Regions from separate parts of the Homo sapiens genome. Here regions 1 and 2 are each linked to region 3. Evidence: promoter capture Hi-C in 16 types of primary human blood cells and fetal thymus (Javierre and others, 2016). All regions are on one chromosome and are shown on one strand. Each heading gives the region's core, a stretch centred on a gene start or on the middle of the fragment in contact. The rest is flanking DNA. Distances are from core to core; before and after follow the strand shown. Region 1 has its middle 5.5 kb from the start of LRRC37A. Region 2 has its middle 23 kb from the start of LRRC37A. Region 3 holds the start of STH (saitohin).

What was found. The method cuts DNA at HindIII sites, captures the fragments that hold promoters and counts their contacts. A CHiCAGO score of 5 or more calls a contact.
Region 1: a fragment that was not itself captured here is called in contact with the fragment with the promoter of STH in region 3 in 9 of 17 cell types (activated CD4 T cells, naive CD8 T cells, total CD4 T cells and 6 more); the score reaches 10.1 in activated CD4 T cells.
Region 2: a contact is called between a fragment that was not itself captured here and the fragment with the promoter of STH in region 3, in 9 of 17 cell types (endothelial precursors, activated CD4 T cells, megakaryocytes and 6 more). The highest score is 10.0, in endothelial precursors.

Annotation. Positions count from the first base shown.
Region 1 is chr17:46,288,256-46,290,955 of GRCh38, reverse strand. It overlaps a transcript of LRRC37A not described here and a transcript of ARL17B not described here. Among named protein-coding and RNA genes, the nearest start is that of LRRC37A, 5.5 kb to the left of the region's middle. RefSeq lists an enhancer at 2,292-2,700. The HindIII fragment of the contact is 2,890 bases long and covers 1-2,700 here.
Region 2 is chr17:46,270,974-46,273,673 of GRCh38, reverse strand. It overlaps a transcript of LRRC37A not described here. Among named protein-coding and RNA genes, the nearest start is that of LRRC37A, 23 kb to the left of the region's middle. The HindIII fragment of the contact is 238 bases long and covers 1,332-1,569 here.
Region 3 is chr17:45,997,800-46,000,499 of GRCh38, reverse strand. STH (saitohin) reads right to left here and starts at 1,250. Exons shown (of 1, transcript NM_001007532.3): 1 at 806-1,250. The coding sequence starts at 1,220. The coding sequence ends at 834. All of the region lies in intron 9 of MAPT (microtubule associated protein tau), which reads right to left. The HindIII fragment of the contact is 3,833 bases long and covers 1-2,225 here.

The DNA of each region.
Region 1 (2,700 bases), core at 179-2,678, 290 kb before region 3:
AATGATTGGTGCATAGGGCTGGGTTACCCTGCAGAAAAAGAGGCACAGCAAACTTATTTCAGGTACAGATGGACCTTACCTTTAGGCAAATCCTTGAAATTTTGGCGTGGGGAATCAGGTTTTCCTGTGGGTTTTTTGTTTGTTTTTGGCTTTTCATAGACATCTATATGAAGTCTCTGCTTTAGAATCTATAAAACTATAGCTTCAGAGGCTGGGCGCAATGGCTCATGCCTATAATCCCAGCACTTTGGGAGGCTGAGGTGAAACGATCACTTGAGGTCAGGAGTTCGAGACCAGCCTGGCTAACAGGGCGAAACCCCGTCTGTACTAAAAATGCAAAAATTAGCCAGGCATGGTGGCAGGCACCTGTAATCCCAGCTGCCTGGGAGGCTGAGGGAGGAGAATCACTTGAACCCAGAAGGCGGAGGTTGCAGTGAGCCGAGATCATGCCACTGCACGACAGAGCGAGACTCCATCTCGAAACAAAAAACTGTAGCTTCAGAGATTCACTTAAATTATCATTTATAGGCCAAGAGAGTTGTGGCTCACAGCCTGTAATCCCAGCATTCTAAAAGGCTGAGGTGGGTGGATCACTTGAGGCCAGGATTTTGAGACCAGCCTGGGCAACATGGCAAAACCCTGTTTCTACAAAAAGGAATTTGCTGGGTGTTGTGATGCACACCTGTAGTCTCAGCTACTTGGCGAGGCTGAGGCCAGGGGACTGCTTGACCCCAGGAGGTCGACCCTGCAGTGAGCCATGATAGCACCACTGTACTCTAGCCGGGGCGATCAAGTGAGGCCCTGTCTCCAAAAAAAAGTTTTGTTTTGTTTTGTTTTAAGACAGGGTCTCACTTTGTCATCTACATTGCAGCACAGTGGTGCCATCACAGCTCACTGAAGTCTTCACCTCTCAGGCTTAAAGGAGCCTCCAACCTCAGCCTTCCAAGTAGTTGGCACTACAGGCATGCGCCACCACACCTGGCTCATTTTTGTATTTTTAGTAGAGATGGGGTTTCACCATGTGGCCAGGCTGCTCTTGAGCTCCTGGACGCAAGTGATCTTCCGCCCTCGGCCTCCCAAACTGCTGGGATTACAGGTGTGAGCCAGTGTGCTGGATGAATTTTTTCAAAGAAGGAAAAATAAAATTAATTCGGCCCTTCATTAAAAAAATTAAAAACTCTTTAAAGGAAACGTGGGCTAAGTTATTTTTCTGAGAGACTATAAGATTTAGGAAGAAAAATAATCATGATGAAACGTTTTGGGAATATTTTTGGTATTTAAAATTATTGTAGAAATTTATAAATGTGTCAGATTTTGGCTGGGCACAGTGGCTCACACTTGTAATCCAAGCACTTTGGGAGGCCAAGGTGGGCAGACCACCTGAGGTCAGGAGTTCGAGACCAGCCTAGCCAACATGGTGAAACCCTATCTCTAAAAGAATTTTTTAAAAAAATTTTAAGTCAGATTTTAAGAAATATTCTTATGGCTGGGTACAAGTGGCTCATAACTGTCATCCCAGCACTTTGGGAGGCAAAGGCAGGCAGATCACTTGAGCTCAGGAGGTAAGTTACCTGGGCAACACAGCAAGACTCCATCTCTACAAAAAAAAAAGTAGCTGGGCATGGTGGTGAGCACCTGTAGCTATTTGAAGGGGTTGAGGCAGGAGGATCACTTGAGCCTGGCAGGTCAAGGCTATAGCAAGCCGTGTTTATGTCACTGCAGTCCAGGCAGGGTGACAAAGTGAGACTCTTATCTCCAAATAAGAAAGAAACCCTCTTGGTCATAGATATGATTTCTTTACACCAAATTTGTTCGTGGATGCCAATCACAATGGGTTTGTCCCTAGGGTAATATAGTTTGCTTTGATCATTTCCAAGAGTAAGTTGTACTACAGGATAGCAGAAGAGATGCACTTAAAAAGTATGGCAAAATGCATATTGAGACAATAGTATGTTGGCCAGACACAGAGACTCACGCTTGTAATCCCAGCACTTTGGGAGGCTGAGATGGGTCACCTGAGGTCAGGAGTTCAAGGCTAGCCTGGCCAACATGGTGAAACCCTGTCTCTAACAAAAATACAAAAAATTAGCTGAGCTTGGTGGCACGTGCCTGTGGTCCTAGGTACTTGGGAGGCTGAGGTGGGAGGATCACTTGAGCCTGGGAGGTGCAGGGTACACTGAGCCGAGATTGTGCCACTGCACTCTAACCTGGGTGACAGAGTGAGACCCAGTCTCAAAAAAAAAAAAAAAGAAAAAACAAGATGCAGTAAAGAAGCCGACCAAAACCAAGATGGTGACGAAAGTGACCTCTGGTCGTCCTCACTGCTCATTAAAACTTTTTTTAAAAAATATGAAAAGAGGCTGGGCCCTGTGGCTCACACCTGTAATCTCAGGACTTTGGGAGGCCAAGGCAGGTGGATCGCCTGAAGTCAGGAGTTTGAGACCAGCCTGGCCAACGTGGCACAACCAAAAATGCAAAAATTAGCCAGATGTGGTGGCACACACCTGTAATCCCAGCTACTTGGGAAGCTGAGGCAAGAGAATTGCTTGAAGCCAGGAGACAGAGGTTGCAGTGAGCCGAGATCATGCCACTGTACTCCAGCCTGGGAGACAGAGCAAGGCTCCGTCAAAAAAAAAAAAAAAAAAAAAAAGCCGGGCCTGGTGGTGCACATCTGTAGTCCCAGCTACTCGGGAGGCTGAG
Region 2 (2,700 bases), core at 201-2,700, 270 kb before region 3:
ATCTGCCATAGCTGGATTATGCAGCTTTGCAAAAATTCTACTAGATTTTATTCTAACTCATATTAGCTTTGTCCTATCAACTTCTGGAATTTATCTAATTATTGCTTTTAAAAGTTTCCTTCCTTTCAACGTTTCCCTGCTATGCAAAACCTTTCCCAGACCTTGGTTTCTTAAAAGAAAGATGTTGCTACAGTTCCCAATTCTTTCTTATTACAGGCTCAGGTGTACAGGTTATTCTGGCTTAATTTTATCTAATGAAGCCCATTCCTTTTTGTACATGAAGATGTCACTTAAACCTATGTTTACAAACTAAAGAGACTAATCACTCAATATGAAAACATGAAAACATTTTTGCTTAAAATATTAAGATGGAAATACTTAAATATGGATTATTTTGTCCTTTTACTTTTTAAAAAAAGTTACATATTGTATGCACTGTGCTGATGCAAGAATTCTACATTTTAATGAATTATAAAATTATTCTGCATCTCATCACGTCACAGTATTTCTGCACTATTTATTCATATATATAGAAATATATATGGGCTTAATCATTTAAAATTTGTTGCAGCAAGAACTTTCCTACCTGTAGGCAATAGATTGCTATGTTTTCAACAAATTGTGGCAAATTCTAAACAGCAATTCTTTTGTATGTAATAGGACATTTCATACTAGAAAAATAAAGTAATGTTTTTGACATTGGATTTGGTGCAGTTTCTAATGAAGCAACGGTTGGTTGGTGGTAATATGTCTTCTGTAGCTGTTAGCATTGCCAAATTAAAAAGGGTAAATTTTATGGAAATCCTGAGACCAGGAAGATATTAATTTCATGTGTATTTAATGGTATAAAGTGTTTTACAGTTTCTATCACCATACAAATACATAAAGACATTTTATAGTTTTATCAACTATAGGGCTTTAGTCTTTCAAAAGTAATTTTTGAAAAACACACATTCCTGGCCAGGTGTGGTGGCCCACGCCTGTAACCCCAGCACTTTGGGAGGCCGAGGCAGGGGGGATCACCTGAGGTCAGGAATTTGAGACCAACCTGGCCAACATGGTGAAACCCCATCTCTACTAAAAGTACAAAAATTAGCCAGGCATGGTGGCAGGCACCTGAAATCCCAGCTACTAGGGAGGCTGAGGCAGGAGAATCACTTGAACCTGGGAGGCGGAGGTTGCAGTGAGCCGTGATCACGCCATTGCACTCCAGCCTGGGGGACAAGAGTGAGACTTCATCTCAAAAAAAATAAAAAAGAAAGAAAAACATACATTTTTTAGAACATAATGAGTTCTGAAAGCTGCTTTTCTGTGAGTAATCTTTGAAAGCTTCTGCTATTAAGATCTATATAACACAGCTATTTTGCTTTCAATAATCCAGGCAGTAAACTGTACATTTGTGATACTCTTAGGATGTTTCTACCACAGGCCTTGGGCTTGTAAATATATTTAATTTGCATCAGTAGATTTCCTTGGCTAAAAGTATTTTCAATAACTGTTATGCTTCACCTGCCAAGTTCACAATCCTTGAAACCATTTCATGAAAAGTATTTTCCTATTGGTAAAGCTTTTATTCTCCTATCCAAATTCTACAGGAGGTTTAAATAAAATTGTGGCTGGGCATGGTGGCTCACGCCTATAATCCCAGCACTCTGGGAGGCTGAAGCGGGCAGATCACAAGGTCAGGAGTTAGAGACCTGCCTGACCAACATGGTGAAACCCTGTTTCTACTAAAAATACAACAATTTAGCTGGACAAGTGGCACACACCTGTAGTCCCAGCTACTCAGGAGGCTGAGGTGGGAGGATGGCTTGAACTGGGGAGGCAGAGGTTGTAGTGAGCTGAGATTGTGCCACTGCACTCCAGCCTGAGCGACACAGCAAGACTCTGTCTCAAAAAAAAAGTGAACTTTTGGAGATATTTTCTGAAGTAAAATAATTACCTTTTTATATTCCAAATGGCCTAGAGTGTTATTTAGAGACACTAAGATTTGCTGTTGTTTGTAATCTACCTTCCTGGGATCTGCAAATAAAAGTTATTTCCCTATTTCTGCTAATTCCTTTAGGCAAACTCTCTACTTCTTTATGTTAAAGAGCCAACCTGGTGGACTTTCAGATCTCTGCACACTTAGTTAGACAAAGTTACATGGTTATTACAGCTTTCACTCTTCCTGATTGAAACTATCATGATACGGCTGGGCGTGGTGGCTCACACGTATAATCCCAGCACTTTGGGAGGCCAAGGCAGGTGGATCACCTGAGGTTGGGAGTTTGAAACCAGCCTGACAAACATGGAGAAACCCCATCTCTACTAAAAATACAAAAAAAAAAAAAAAAAAAAATTAGCTAGGTAAAGTGGCGCATGCCTGTAATCCCAGCTACTTGGGAGGCTAGAGCAGGAGAATCACTTGAACCCAGGAGGGAGAGGTTGCGGTGAGCTGACATCATGCCATTACACTCCAGCCTAGGCAACAAGAGCGAAACTCCTTCTCAAAAAAAAAAAAAAAAAAGAAACTATTACCATAGGTCTCAGATTTCTTGCCCTTAATGTGAGAATGGGGATATTCCATGGATAAAATAATGAAGTACTTGAGGAGGTGGAGGGAAGAGCCAACCGAGAAGTATTTTTAATAATTTGAAACATTCTAAGGTATTTCTAGATACTTGGAGTGAGATACTAAAAGACTTTTCTTAGAAGATT
Region 3 (2,700 bases), core at 1-2,500:
GATCGGCGGGGCCTACGGGCTCTTCCTGCCTGGCACCCCACCCAGCTCCTCCTCCTTGCCTGCAATCTCTACCCCTACCCAGCTGGTGCTCCAGTGCGGCCACCTGATTATCTGCATTTTCCTTTCAAAATAATTCCATTTGGGGCCCCAAAGCAATCTATGTTCACTGTAGCAAATCCTGAAAACAGAGAAAAGCACAAAGAAGAAAACAGAGAAAAGCACAAAGGGGAAAACAGACGTTTTCCGTTTTTCCCCCAATGATTTGCAGCAATCTGCGGCAGTTTTCAGCCTCTGCAGGTTCCCAAACGTGACTTGGCTCCTGCTCTTTTCCCTTTGGTGTTAGCATCTGTTCCGGCACGGTTGAGGGATTCTTCAGACTCCGCCAGCTTTGCCTCTTTTGTAGCCAAACATTTATTGAGCACTTACTGCATACTGGGTACTACATGAGGCCACAGGGACCCAAAGGTCTCAGCAAAAGCTCGTGGAGCCTTCAGGCCAGTCCAGGAGGAGGAGGCCTGACACCCTTCAGCGGGTCATTTTAAAGGCTCTTGTGCATGGACCCTGTATGACATTTTTCTTTTTCTTTTTTCCTGGAGATTCATGTGTTGGTCTTTGTTATGGCTGAGGTTTAGTTTCAGACAATTTTTCTAGGCTTTCCTGGCATTTAAGGGAGGCTGTGACTGTGTCCTCTGCCACTTTTCCACACTTCGTCCCCCAAAATATCTCAAGAAAAGTCAAGTCACCCTTTCTCCTTTAACCCTTTAGTAGATTTGGACGTGCTGCCTCCACCCAGCATGGTGACGTCATAACCTGGGGCTCCCATCTGCCCCTTTCTACACTTGGCATGAGGTCGCCTGACTCTCACCCCTCATGGGCAGAGGCAGGGCAGCTGCAGGGTGGGAGGGACAGTTCTGGCCCTGAAAGGGGCCTTCAATGGAAAGTTGTCTTCCCTGCTCAGCCCCATTCCTGCTGCTCTCTTCAGAGCTGTAAGAACTGGGCCAAATGGTGCCCACACCTTCCAAGCCAACCTCAGATGAACTCAGGGTCAACAGGGAAGCTACTTCCCATGCTAAGCTGAGGGTTCTGTCTCTGGCAACCTGAATCATCCACTCACACAGAGGCTGAGTTAAATTAACCCCGCATTCAATGAGGGCCGGCCACCTGCACAGTCTTGTGGGGGCTGCAAAAATGCATGAGACTTGGCCTCCACCCTCACTCATGGCCCAGACTAGGGAGCAGCAGACACATGCTCAGTGTGGTCAGAGTTTACAGGGGCTTTAAGAAGAGAGAGGGGAATCCAGGAAGACTTCCTGGAGGAGATGGCAACTGAACTTGGATTTAAGGGAAGGGAAGAGATAAGGAGAGAAGGACATTCCCCACCATGGGACACAGGGCAGGGTATGGCAGAACCCAGGGGCCCCCAGAGGTGCATGGGCGGGGAACCCCAGACGGGGAGCAGCAGATTCAGGCTAGGGGGAAGGGAGCACCTTGTGGGTGCTGCTTGTTATGTGACTTGAGGAGATCCTGGATGGCAGTCTGGGTGCTGGAGCAGGATGGGGGTGCATGGGTGGGCAATGGGAGAAAAGGCAGGAAAGGCCAGTGAGGGCCCCTCTGGGGTCTTGGGCAGCACCAAGGCCAGGCACCCTGGAGAATGAAAGTCACGGTGGTCCCAAGATGGGGCTTCTGGAGGCGACTTTCGAGAACCGAATGAGGACTGGAAAGTCTGGAGACGAGGGAGCGCATTGTCCCCAGTGGAAGCGCAGGACAGTTTCCCTCAGCTGCGGTACAGGACAGAGGCCCTGGGTCACCTGTGAGTTATTTCCCCAAGGTCTCTAACCAGGCCACTGTGGTGGATGAGGGTCCAGAGAGCCTCTTCCACTACAAGCTCCACATGCCTGAGCAGGAAAAGGCCGGACCTTAATTTAACCCGGATCGTTTGCCATCAGGAGGGAGATTCTGAGATGTTCTCTTCCTTCCCTCCCTCCTGTGTTCCAGGGAGCTCTGCCCTTGTCCCCACAGCCACAGGGGAGCCACTGTCTGTCCTTTCCTCGATGAGAGGAGGTGCTCTGGGGCACAGCCGAGTCTTCTCCACCTCTGTGCACCGCCTGGCACGCAGGGACTCTCAAAAGAGGCCTGATGCACAGAGGCAGGGTCTACACATGCGTCCCTTTTAACCCGACCGTCCATTTCCATCCCGATGGGATGTGACACTGCACTCACAAGCTTGTTCGGGGGCAGGGGGGATCCTGGGTGGGGGGAGGTGGCAGGGTTTGAGGCAAGGTGCCCATGTGCACTGGTGGCCACCCTCCGTCCAAATGCCCCAGGCTCAGACCCAAGTGATAAGAACTTCAATGGTGTGGAGAGCGCCTGCGTGGGGGAGGCAAGCTGACACGCAGGCCCAGGGTTCCAGAAAGCCCCCTAGCTCCCCGAGGCCCAGTGCCCAGAAGGCCCAGCACATCTGCAGCCTCAGAGTGAGCTGTGGTCCTTCTCACCCCCAGCCTCCTCTTCACCCTTCCCCAGCTCCCCAGTGCTGGGTGGCGGGAGCGGGGTCCTGGGCTGAATTGTGGTCCCCGCAAATTCACATGTTGAAGCCCTAACCCCCCTCCCCAACACCCCCGTACCTTAGAATGTGACTCTATTTGGAGACAGGGCCTTTAGAGAGGTGACTAAGTGAAAAATGAGGTCATCAGGCTGGGCCCT